Regions from separate parts of the Homo sapiens genome. Here all the other regions are linked to region 3. Evidence: promoter capture Hi-C in human tissues and cell types (Jung and others, 2019). All regions are on one chromosome and are shown on one strand. Each heading gives the region's core, a stretch centred on a gene start or on the middle of the fragment in contact. The rest is flanking DNA. Distances are from core to core; before and after follow the strand shown. Region 1 overlaps TLN1 (talin 1). Region 2 overlaps CA9 (carbonic anhydrase 9). Region 3 holds the start of DCTN3 (dynactin subunit 3).

Region 1 (3,960 bases), core at 462-2,961, 1.1 Mb before region 3:
GCCTGGACAGTGTAATGGAGAACTCAAAGGTCAGCACAGCCAGGAACTCGGAGGAGAGAGGGCAGTAGGATGGAGCTAACCAGATGCTGCCCTGGGGTTCTGAGGACATGCTCTGACTCCCCTGATGTCCTCTGTTCCTCAGGTGCTGGGCGAGGCCATGACTGGCATCTCCCAAAATGCCAAGAACGGAAACCTGCCAGAGTTTGGAGATGCCATTTCCACAGCCTCAAAGGCACTTTGTGGCTTCACCGAGGCAGCTGCACAGGTTATTTTCCTGAGATGGGTTCTTTGAATGGCCCCTACTTTCTTTACCCCATTTTCTCTCAGCCTGACATACCTGTAGATAAATCAAGAAGTTTATGTTTGCAAAGCCAACTCTATGGAATCTGGGTTGTCCTCCTCCTGAAGTGGAGACACTTGTCAGCAATTACTGAACACCAGCAGTTCTGATTTCTGTAATTCCTGAACCCTGGTACTTTGGTTAGGATTACACTGCCCAACCGTGAGGCCTTTTCCAGCTGGCTTTCTCAAAATATACTAATTAGCTTATACAAACTATTTTTTCATGTTATTACTACTTTCTTTTTTTTTTTTTTTTTTTTTGAGACAGCGTTTCGCTCTGTCGCCCAGGCTGAAGTGCAATGGCGTGATCTAGGCTCACTGCAAGCTCCGCCTCCCGGGTTCACGCTAGTCTCCTGCCTCAGCCTTCCAAGTAGCTGGGACTACAGGCGCTCACCACCACACCCGGCTAATTTTTTGTATTTTTTTTTTTTTTTTTAGTAAAGACAGGGTTTCACCATGTTAGCCAGGATGGTCTCGATATCCTGACTCGTGATCCACCTGCCTCGGCCTCCCAAAGTGCTGGAATTACAGGCGTGAGCCACCGCGCCTGGCCTGTAATCACTACTTTCTTTTTTTTTTTTTTTTTTTTTTTTTTTTGAGACCGAGTTTCGCTCTGTCGCCCAGGCTGGAGTGCAGTGGCGCGATCTAGACTCACTGCAAGCTCCGCCTCCCGGGTTCACGCCATTCTCCTGCCTCAGCCTCCCGTGTAGCTGGGACTACAGGCGCGCGCCACCATGCCCGGCTAATTTTTGTATTTTTAGTAGAGACGGGGTTTCACCGTGTTAGCCAGGATGGTCTCGATCTCCTGACCTCGTGATCCGCCCGTCTCGACCTCCCAAAGTGCTGGGATTACAGGCGTGAGCCACCGCGCCCGGCCAATCACTACTTTCTTAAAATAGTACTAGTGACAAAATTTCCAGTTACTTGAGTTATCACTTAACTTTGCCTTTTCCCACATTATCAAGTATAAAACTACCTATTAGCTGTAAAGTATTTTGCTTTAGTATATGAATCCTTAAAACAAACTGGCATCATAAGAGTTCACTTCAGACTATTTTCCCTGAAAGCCTACCATCCTAGCCCTCCATCTCCACCACCTCCCTGTGCCCTGTCAGAATAGGCGCCTTGCTCTAGATGGCTTGTTTGATTTTGTTTTTTTGTTTTTTTGGTTTTTTGTTTGTTTGTTTTTTGAGACGGAGTCTCGCTCTGTCGCCAGGCTGGAGTGCAGAGGCATAATCTCGGCTCACTGCAACCTCCGCCTCCCGGGTTCAAGTGATTCTCCTACCTCAGCCTCCCGAGTAGCTGGGACTACAGGCGCCTGCCACCACACCCGTCTGATTTTTGTATTTTTAGTAGAGACAGGGTTTCACTAAACCTCTTTGTTGTTTGTTTGGTTTTTTTCCCCCCACCTTCTGAAAATGCATAGAGGAAAAAGCAAAGCTACTGTGTATTGATTGAAGTATGAATCAAACATTAGGATGTTCTTTCCATCATAAAAATGGCTTTTTAACCCCTCCCTTCCTTTCCAAATATCTGACGCATGGAGGTGCTATAAATGTGAATTAGCCTAATAACCTTCATCAGTTTTGAACTGTCTTTAAAAGAGGCTTTGCTTGTGTGCACAAAGGTGTGTATTTATATATGGCTCTCAAACGTTTTACTGCTACTTACAGTAAGCCATACTTTTCACTCTAAGACCCAACATACACAAACATATCTAAATAGAGATTGGATAAAAACCCTTGCTATGTAGTTTTCCTTTTTATTAACTTTTTTAATCTTCTGAAATGCTTGAATATACTTAATGAAAACAGGAGAGTATTTTTTTTCTTCTTTATAGTGTAACCATTGTTTGCTAATGTATCTCCACTCATGGAGAACTCTGGAAAATAAGCCCTATTCTCTAAACTTACCTCTGCTCTCTTTTGTCCCTACTATCACTATTCATTTCCCACCTGCAATCTTTATTCCTCACCCCCACCCCCTTTTCTCTTCCCAGGCTGCATATCTGGTTGGTGTCTCTGACCCCAATAGCCAAGCTGGACAGCAAGGGCTAGTGGAGCCCACACAGTTTGCCCGTGCAAACCAGGCAATTCAGATGGCCTGCCAGAGTTTGGGAGAGCCTGGCTGTACCCAGGCCCAGGTAACTCAAGGGAACAGGGACCACAGGCGAGTCTGGGAAAGGGCAGACCGACCCCGTGGAGTAGAGGGAGGTGAGGCATGTGGGAAAGAGGGCAGGGACCCATCTCTGACCTTGCACACACAGCTTCTTTTTGGGTAACTGTCTTTTTCTGCCATGGGTCTCATCATTTATCAGTTACTGCTAAATTCACAACTTCTCTGTAGATGTTCGAGCTTACTCTCCCACATGCCCTCTTATGGTTTCTCCATTAGTATGTCTTTCCTCTCCCATGCCCAGTTCATCTTTGGGTATCTCTGTCTCCTAGATCTTGACTTTTCAGGTGACTCTGTTATTCCTGTTTTGACTCCTCAGGGTATTGCTCTCCATCCCCTGACCCTAAAATGGCTCCTCCTTGGGTATGTACACCTCCTTCCTGCCCTCATCGTGGCTCTTCCATGTGTCTCCTCAGGTGCTCTCTGCAGCCACCATTGTGGCTAAACACACCTCTGCACTGTGTAACAGCTGTCGCCTGGCTTCTGCCCGTACCACCAATCCTACTGCCAAGCGCCAGTTTGTACAGTCAGCCAAGGAGGTGGCCAACAGCACAGCTAATCTTGTCAAGACCATCAAGGTTCCCATTGCTTGAATTCCCAGCCTCTCCCTGACCTGTCCTATCTTCTCCCCCGAGTCCCCCAGTTATTCTCTGAAGCCTTCTACCAAATCCCCTCTGCCTGAGCCCAAGCTCTTTCTATTCAGACTGACCACCTAGCCTCTCCCCAAATCCTGTAAGTCCCAGGAAGGAGACCTGGACTTCACTTCCTATACCCCCTATGACTGCATCCCAAGTCCTGAGAGCCTCTCTGTCACTTCTAGGCGCTAGATGGGGCCTTCACAGAGGAGAACCGTGCCCAGTGCCGAGCAGCAACAGCCCCTCTGCTGGAGGCTGTGGACAATCTGAGTGCCTTTGCGTCCAACCCTGAGTTCTCCAGCATTCCTGCCCAGATCAGCCCTGAGGTGAGGCGATGTGAAGGGGGAACTGATGGGCCAGCTTATCACCTCATCTTCCAGGGACTCCTGAGACTTACCTTCCTGCCTCCCCTCTCCCCAGGGTCGGGCTGCCATGGAGCCCATTGTGATCTCTGCCAAGACAATGTTAGAGAGTGCCGGGGGACTCATCCAGACAGCCCGGGCCCTCGCAGTCAATCCCCGGGACCCCCCGAGCTGGTCGGTGCTGGCCGGCCACTCCCGTACTGTCTCAGACTCCATCAAGAAGCTAATTACAAGCATGAGGTATTGAGGGATGGGGAACCAGTGTGGCTGGGGGGCATACATTGTGGCAGAATGGAGGATGGGCACTTGAGTGCAATGAGATGGGATGGTGTTGGGAGGATACAGGGGAAGGATAGGCTGGCCTTGCAGTAGGGGATGTTCTTGGTGTTGGAGCCCATGATGTGTCTGCAGGGACAAGGCTCCAGGGCAGCTGGAGTGTGAAACGG
Region 2 (4,148 bases), core at 594-3,093, 1.1 Mb before region 3:
CAGTCCATCTGTTTGTCCCTGCCAAGGGGCCCTGAGGTCCGTGAATGCATGTGTCTTCCTTGACCCACTCCATGTCTATATGTCACCTTCCCCTGGCCCTGCCTCCCCACGTCTCCCCCTTGTGTCTCCCTTCTCCCTCACCTGCTGCTTCCCCTCACAGAGACCTTGGCCAGTGCCAAGGAGGAGAACGTCGAGATTCACCAGACCTTGGACCAGACCCTGCTGGAACTCAACAACCTGTGAGGGCCAGCCCCACCCCCAGCCAGGCTATGGTTGCCACCCCAACCCAATAAAACTGATGTTACTAGCCTCTCAAGGCCCTTTAATCCTTTCTTTGGTGTTGGCAATGGAGTTTGAGGGACCCCTGAATGAGCAGGGCCTGGGTCCTTGCTCTGCATTGGGACTTCCTTTTCAGGGGAAACTGGGATGGAGGGCCTGGGCTCATTGAGGAGGGGCTGTGAACAGGCTCTGTGAAGCAGGGAGTCTGACAGGACTGGGGGACATCGTGGGCCTTGTGCCCTACAGGCAGAGGAGCTGCCATCCATAGCACCGCCCTGTTCCAGCAGCCAGCTGGGCCAGACAGCACGTCCTGAAGCAAAAACTGCAAGAAGTGACACATTTTCCTTGAGCAGGGTGAAAACCCAAAAGCCTGAGTGTGATGTTAAGCCTAGGGCTGCTGTCTGCCCTACCCCTCAACACATACACTGCACACACACACAAACACACACACACACACAGCCATCCCAACAGTATCAGTCATTTCTGTCCTCTTCCTGATAGCATCTGTGGTAGGCAGAATAATTCCCCTTCTCCAAAGATGTCCATGTTCTAATCCTGTGCATTGTTCTTATCTTACATGGGAAGAAACTTGGTGATTAAGATTTTGAGATGGGATGATTATCCTTGGTTATCTAGTTAGGCCCAGTGTAATCCCAAGGGTTCTTGAGGAGACAAGGAGGTCAAATGTGGAGGTAGGAGTTGTGACAATGGGAGCAAGAGATTGGAGTGATGTGTGGAAGGAGGAACAAGCCCTACTGACATCTGACTGCTGACCTCCGAACTGTAATAGAATAAATGCATTACCACTAAATTCGTGCTAATAACAGTAATAGGAAATTCAAATACCATCCTTCTGATTTGGGGAACAAAGGTGACTAACACATATTTTATTATAAATATTTATTTTAAAAAATTTCTTGGCAGTTAAAAGGAAGTGGCATAATGAGCAGGACAGGACAGTTACCGGCTCCCCCTCAGATGCCTCTGGCTGGCTTCTCACATTCTCCAAGATCCAGCCTCTAGGCTCCAGTCTCGGCTACCTCTGCTGGGCGGTAGCTCACACCCCCTTTGGTTCCCCTTCTGTGTGTACACAACAGGAAAGGCTAATCAGAAAACTGGCCCAGGAGCAGCTCATTTGCATGCGCTTTGCATGAAGTGACTCCACAAGGGTGGGGGAAGCTTGTGCCTGAAGAAAGGGTCAGTGTAATACCTGTGCTGCCTTCTCATCTGCACAAGGAACGCGACGCTGGTGACAGCAAAAAGGAGGCCAAAAACCAGGGCTAGGATGTCACCTGCGATGGAGAGCAGAGAGGGCTGCTTTGGGAAGGAAGAGGGGTCTGCAGAGTTCCTCAACACCTGCCTCAGTGCACTCCACCACCCCTGCCCCGAGTTCTCAGGCAGCCCCTAGTGCCTCAGTCTCCAGAAGAGGCCAGCCAAGGGATGAGGGTGGATACACGAGAAGGGGTAAGATAAGCACCGTTTTTGCTTCCTAAAAGCCAAGTAAAAGGGCCGTTTGGGGCCAGGCACAGTGGCTCATGCCTACAGTCCCAGTGCTTTGAGAAGCTAAGGTGAAAGGATTGCCTGAGCCTAGGAGTTCGAGGCTGCAGTGAGCTATGATCGTGCCACAACACCCCAGCCTGGGCAACAGAGTGAGACCCTATCTTTAAAAAAAGGGGGGGGATTGTTTTGCGAGAGGGATGCTGGGAGATTTCTCAAGCTTCATTCTAATCAATTAGCCTCTGGGGACAATGGGGGAATCCCCACCATGATCTGCCTCTCTAATATTGGGGTTGGGGTCTGTTCTGCAGAAAAGGAGAGGGAGCAGAGGCGGTCCTGAGCAGCCCTGGGGCTGAATGGTGCTGAGGAGTCTCCTGGCATCAGGACCAAGAGGAGGGGCAGACTCACCAGCAGCCAGGCAGGAATTCAGCTGGACTGGAGAGAAAAAGGAGATGTGAGAGGCGGGCTGTGACCACCAATGACAGACACTGGCACACACATGGGAGGATAAGGGACTACTGGCTGGGGGGAAACCAGACAAAGCTGTACCTGGCTCAGCAGCCCGAGGACTGCTGTCCACTCCAGCAGGGAAGGAGGCCTCAATCACTCGCCCATTCAAAGGCTGCGTCGCTCGGAAGTTCAGCTGTAGCCGAGAGTCACCAGGTCCCCACAGGGTGTCAGAGAGGGTGTGGAGCTAGGGAGGTCAGTGGACAGTGTGGGTGGGTTCATGGCATGACAGGAAACAAGGGTCCCAGGCCAGCTCACAACCAGCACCTCAGGGCTCCACCCTCCAGCTCCTGTATTCCCCATCCAGCCTCTTGATTTCTTTTATAAATAAATAAATGTATCCTAAAGATGGTAGGCAGTGGTGGGATCATAGCTCACTGCAGTCTCAAACTCCTGGAATCAAGCGATCTTCCCACCTCAGCCTCCTTGAGTAGCTGGGACTAGGCGCATACCACCATGCCCGGCTATTTTTGGTTTTGTTGGGGTTTTTTTGGTAGAGATGGGGTCACACTATGTTGCCCCGCCTTGTCTTGAACTCCTGGGCTCAAACCATTCTCCCACCTCAGCCTCCCAACGTGGTGGGATTATAGGCGTAAGCCACAGAGCCCAGCCTTGATTTCTTTCTTCTCCTGTTTCTCATCTCATCTTACATCCTCTTTCCCCCGCACCCACTGTGTCCACACACACCCCAGGCCCACCTGCTTAGCACTCAGCATCACTGTCTGGTTAAACACAGTCCAGATGACACCCTGGGCACAGGGCGGTGTAGTCAGAGACCCCTCATATTGGAAGTAGCGGCTGAAGTCAGAGGGCAGGAGTGCAGATATGTCCAGTCCTGGGACCTGAGTCTCTGAGCCTGTGAAGAGGATCTATGTTGGGGTCTCATCTACATTGCACCCCCTTAAAGCTTCAGGGTATAGGGATACAGTTTCACCTCCCAGAAGCCAAGGTAACTCAACTCTGAGACCACTTCTTCGCTAAGTGCAGGCCCTTCCCATAAGACGTAACTCAAAAAAAAGTACAGGGCTTTGGAGCAACTGGAAGAGGCCTGAGGAAGCAAGAGAGGAAGAAAGAAAGGAAGGAGAGAAGGGAAGGTGGGAGGGAAGGGAGGAAGGAAGAGAAGGAAAGAAGAAAGACCGTCTGAGTCTACACTCTTAACTCTGTGTACCATCATAAAGTGCTGGGCCACAAGTTTAAGCCCAGAGCAAATTAAAAAGAAAAAATGAATCCCAGCACTTTGGGAGGCCGAGGCTGGTGGATCACAAGGTCAGGAGTTTGAGAGCAGCCTGGCCAATATGGTGAAACCCTGTCTCTACTAAAGATGTAAAAAAAAAAAAAAAGAAAAGAAAAGAAAAAATGATCTGAATAACTTGTAAATAAATATGAATATTGATAACTATACAAAACAGACACAAGAAATGCAAAGGCAGAGTTCTACCTAGTCTAGCAGAAACCTAAAAGGTCTAGTAGAGTAAGTGAGATTTAAAATGACCCAAGAGTGACTAAGAAGAGAACGATTTCCAACAAAAGTATTTACAAAGTTAAAATATTTGATGCTTATTAAAGATAAACAGTTCTCAGAAAAAGTTTAGCTCTCCAGACTTGACCTTGACAATTCCAAACACCATTTTTTGGTCTTGTTTTTTTTGTCTCATTTTGGTTTTTGCTTGGTTTTCTTTTTTTTTTTTTTTTTTGAGACAAGAGTCTCGCTCTGTTGCCCAGGCTGGAGTGCAGTGGCACGATCTCGGCTCACTGCAACTTCTGCCTCCCGGGTTCATGCCATTCTCCTGCCTCAGCCTCCCGAGTAGCTGGGATTACAGGCACCCGCCACCACGCCTGGCTATTTTTTCGTATTTTTAGTAGAG
Region 3 (4,454 bases), core at 1,321-3,820:
AAGCGATTCTCCTGCCTCAGCCTCCCGAGTAGCTGGGACTACAGGGGCCCGCCACCATGCCCGGCTAATTTTTGTATTTTTAGTAGAGACGGGGTTTCACCGTGTTAGCCAGGATGGTCTCGATCTCCTGACCACGTGATCCGCCCTCCTCCGCTTCCCAAAGTGTTGGGATTACAGGCTGAGTCACCGCGCCCGGCCAGGAAAAGGTCCTTTAATCACAGCAACTCCATTCCACACATGTCCACCCAGTGCTCCTATTTGCATATAGTTTGTGCCTCTTGTGACCTGGATTATTTAATAACCAACAGCCAAAAACAATCCCCCAAATTGTCTAGACATGTACCTTGATCCTTTGGGCTCTAGAGAAAAGCTTCAGCGCTTCCAGGCTGAGGCTCTGGATGGGAAGATAGATCGAATGAAGGATGAGAGATTGGTACATGAGCTTGAGTTACCTCTTTTGGTCCCAGGCCTGGGGGAGAACCAATGCAGAGATGGGTTGGTTTGGCCAGGGGAGCTGAATAACCTGTTCTTCTAGAGGAGAGTGGAATTCCAAACCCTTGTCTGGCACTGCCTGTGGGCCTGGCACTGGGACCTACACGGGAGAAATTGGCACCAGAGGAGCCCCCAGAGAAGAGAGCTGTGCTGATGGGGCCTATGGACCCACCTCGACCTTGCATGCCCCCCAGTTTCCTGCCCCGTGGCAAGGTTCCCCTGAGGGGTGAGGAGGGGCTTGTTGTGAGGGGGCTTCGGGACTGTACACTGAGGGAGGATTGACCCATCACCTGATAGGTGTTAGAGACGGGGCAGACAGATTCCTCTGTAGACAACTGTGTGAGTATAGGTGTGGGGCTGAAGTGGAATGGGGGCTGTCTACGGGGATGGAGGGGGGAAATTCTATTAATAAGTCAGAAGTCTGATTCTCCAAAATGTGATTCCTCTGCCCCCTCCTGGACAGAAGAGCGGCTGGATGGGCCTCTTAATCTGGCAGGCAGTGGCATCAGCAGTATCAACATGGCCCTAGAGATCAACGGGGTGGTCTACACTGGTATGGGTACTGCAGGCTGTCTACACTGGCATGGGGTCAGGGGTATTTAGGCTGGCATGGGGATTTTAGACTTCCTCTACTAGCATGAAGTTCAGGGATATCTAAACTTGCATGAGTAACATGGAGTTCAGGGGATTGCTAGACTGGCATGGGTTAAAGGGGGTGTCTACATGGCATGGGATCCAAGGCATGACCTCTCTGGCATGAGTACCAGGGGATGTCTGCCTTGTCTTGGGCCTATGTATCAGCATAAATATTCCTTGTTTACCTGTTTGAGGTATCTACATTAGCAATGGAGTCTCTTACTGACCCAAGGAGCTTGTCCTCATTGGTTTGTGGCAGGGGTACGTGTGTAGTGTTCTAGCAACCAGAACACTTACTTTTGTTCCCCTCTTCTGTTTCCATACCCTACCCCCTCCTGCTTGTTTTTGCCCTCTACCATCTCCTCACCCCTTTGCCAGGTGTCCTCTTTGCCCGCCGCCAGCCTGTGCCAGCTTCCCAGGGTCCAACCAACCCTGCACCCCCACCCTCCACAGGGCCCCCTTCCAGCATCTTGCCCTGAGAGGTCCTACTTGAAACTAAGAGTCCCAGCCCCATTGCTGAGGGGGGAGGAGACCCCCTGCTTTGATTCTTTCTGGCTGCCCACTCTGGGACCCAGCCCTGGGAGGGGACGACACCTCCCATGCCATGTGGACTTAAAACCAAAGTTTCTTTTGATGTTACACCTACCTCATTGTAAAGGGAGGGCACCTCCTCCCTGGCCAATTCCAGCAGCACCTACCAAAGGGTTCTTCCTCCAGTAACCCCATCATCTCCTCATGTGTTCCCTCTGTCAATGTCATCTCTAGGACCCTACCCTTTTGAGTCAGCCCTGCTTCTCTTCAGGAGCCAAGTGAAAGGTTGGGTTGGGGTACTGTGAAAGAGACATCCCTCAGGTCACATCTAGACAATAAAGCTGCGGTCCCTCCCTCTCTGATGCCTCCTTTCTTGTTTGGGTATGGGAGGTGGGGAGGAATGATGTGGAACATAGGCTGCCTTGGGCCAGGGGCTTTCAGAGGTTAAGGCAGAATAGCAAAGTTTCGTGAGAATAGAAGAGCTCCGTCTCTTGAATCAGACAGCCTGAGTTCAAGTCCTGTTTCTGTCCCTATAGTGCTGGGTGGCCTTGGGCAAGTTACTTAATCAACTGAACCTTAGAAGACTCCAAAAGTTTATGGTAACTCACGGAGCCTCCTAATGATGTATCTATGGGAATGGACCTATCCTGGAACACGTGCAAACTCAGGGAATGGCGTGGGGAAAGCTCTTTGGTACCCGAAAAGCAAAGGTTATCTTGACAACCAGGCACTGGAAGCCAGGGGAGGGATGGGACAGAGCCGTTGCCAAGGTAATCAGCTTTTGACAGCTCCGAGGAGTAACTTCCGGCACTGAAGGGCTGAATCATGGCGTCACTTCCTGCATAAAGGGCCGCTCGTGCACTCGGATTGGCTAGCCTTCTTATTTGGACTGACGTCCCGCCCTCTGGCTGTTTCCTGGCCGAGGTGGGTCGGTAGTAGCGATGGCGGGTCTGACTGACTTGCAGCGGCTACAGGCCCGAGTGGAAGAGCTGGAGCGCTGGGTGTACGGGCCGGGCGGGGCGCGCGGCTCACGGAAGGTGAGTAGTCTGGTCCGGTAGTCCCTTTCTGGAGCAGAGCAAGAGCGGTCCACTGTCCTGGCCCTCGGGATGCAACCGCTCCAGTCCTGTTCTCCGCAGCCCGGCCTTTGAAATAACAAAGGTCCGGGACCTCCCAGAGCTGATTGGACCATCGGGGTCCACTGTCATAGGGGGCTCTGCGGGTGGTTAAGCCAGCCTGAGAGTGGGCTCCGTACCTACTGTAGCTGAGACTCCGCCCTTGCCCTCGCGAGCTATAGTTGGGGAGACCTGACACGAGAAGCTGACTAATGAGAGTTTCAATAAGAGCTGAAGTCCACGATAGGAAGGCCCGTCATAGAGCCCTGCATAATTAATTGCTAAATGAATTGTGCAGGAAGAGGTCCATGGGACCCCTGGGGAGGCAGAGCAGAGGTGGATAAGGAAAACGCCAAAGGGTGAGAAGTGAGGTCTGAAAGGACCAGGATTAGGAAGGGAAGAGACTGGGTACTGGGTATTCAGATGTGGACTAGCACTGCTTTATACCAGTGACAGAATTTTGACAACTACGAAGCTCAGGTGCCCTCTCCTCCCCTTTCTACTATGGGAAGATCTTTTATTGAAGAACTTCTGATGGCGTGTCAGGCATGTCCTGGAGCTAAGTGCGTCCAAGGTAATGATGTCTGTTTGTACACTAAATGAGGAATTAGTTGTCACTAGCAGACTGTGCTCCCATTTCAGAACTAACTTCTCAAACATTCTCTTCCTTTGGGATCTATGACGCTGACCCTCCTGGTTTTCCTTCTACCTCTTACGGCTGCTTCTCAGTGTTATTTGCCTCCCCCCTGGCATTCCTCATCCTCTACCCTAAAAACTGGGTGAGTGCAGTCACTTCCTTAGTCTCCTCCTCTATTTGACCCTTTAATATTGGGATTCTTTACATTCTACCCCTAAACTTTAGGTAGGCTCACTCGCTTCCATGGTGTCAATTACTATTTACATGTCAATATGTCTCAAATGTATATCTCTGGTCCAGATTTCTGTTCTGAGAACCAGACTTTTATGTCTAGTTGTCTACTGGACTTTTCCACTTGGATATCCAATAGTCATTTCAAACTCAATCTGTATGCCCTTAACTGTACTCTTTCTCTCCCCTAACCTGATTCTCTTCTGTATTCCCTAATTCAGTGATTGCACCATCATTGGGATCCCAGTTGTTTGGACTCTTCCATCTCCCACACCAAATTTGATGTGGAGGGGATAGGGCTAGAGGTAGGCCAGCCAATCTAGAGGTCATGAAGGCTTGAATGAGGATGCTTGTGTTTCTCATGCCCAAACCCAGGACTTAGGAACCAGAAAATATATTGTGTATACTCTATATTCCATAGACTCTAAAATAGTTCGTTATCTTCCCCATCAGACTTGAAACTCCCCAAGGAGTACATGATTCTCTCTCTCCACTTTAAGGATTCCTGGAAGGTGGGGCTGCATCTCCTTTAATATTAGAGAAGGGAGGCCAACCTAGATTACTGGGATTCAGGTTTGAGAGTCTGGGAGAATGAGGGTTCTTTAACTTTTCCAAGCCTTGAGCCAGGTAGTATATCTTGGAATTAACCACCACTTCCCTTACAGGTGGCTGACGGCCTGGTCAAGGTGCAGGTGGCTTTGGGGAACATTTCCAGCAAGAGGGAGAGGGTGAAGATTCTCTACAAAAAGAGTAAGTGCTTCCATGATGTGCCTGCCTGCCCGACATCCCACCCCTCAGCTTCCTGGTACCTGGCC

The links. The method cuts DNA at HindIII sites, captures the fragments that hold promoters and counts their contacts. A contact is called where the count stands out against the background at its distance.
Region 1: a contact is called between a fragment that was not itself captured here and the fragment with the promoter of DCTN3 in region 3, in 1 of the 25 tissues and cell types used here (stomach).
Region 2: a contact is called between a fragment that was not itself captured here and the fragment with the promoter of DCTN3 in region 3, in 1 of the 25 tissues and cell types used here (lymphoblastoid cells).

The regions. Positions count from the first base shown.
Region 1 is chr9:35,706,866-35,710,825 of GRCh38, reverse strand. TLN1 (talin 1) reads left to right here. Exons shown (of 57, transcript NM_006289.4): 32 at 1-29; 33 at 143-265; 34 at 2,342-2,485; 35 at 2,934-3,095; 36 at 3,338-3,478; 37 at 3,573-3,754; 38 at 3,926-3,960. It overlaps MIR6852 (microRNA 6852), which reads left to right and starts at 85; the gene lies at 85-150. RefSeq lists an enhancer at 1-45. The HindIII fragment of the contact is 8,507 bases long and covers 1-3,960 here.
Region 2 is chr9:35,678,176-35,682,323 of GRCh38, reverse strand. CA9 (carbonic anhydrase 9) reads right to left here. Exons shown (of 11, transcript NM_001216.3): 7 at 2,982-3,139; 8 at 2,326-2,470; 9 at 2,185-2,211; 10 at 1,490-1,571; 11 at 1,165-1,359. The coding sequence ends at 1,299. It also overlaps a transcript of TPM2 not described here. Among named protein-coding and RNA genes, the nearest start is that of CA9, 6.3 kb to the right of the region's middle. The HindIII fragment of the contact is 4,289 bases long and covers 1-3,987 here.
Region 3 is chr9:34,618,611-34,623,064 of GRCh38, reverse strand. DCTN3 (dynactin subunit 3) reads left to right here and starts at 2,570. Exons shown (of 7, transcript NM_007234.5): 1 at 2,570-2,696; 2 at 4,305-4,389. The coding sequence starts at 2,601. ARID3C (AT-rich interaction domain 3C) reads left to right here. Exons shown (of 8, transcript NM_001017363.4): 6 at 536-718; 7 at 956-1,045; 8 at 1,507-2,016. The coding sequence ends at 1,607. The HindIII fragment of the contact is 3,867 bases long and covers 2,501-4,454 here.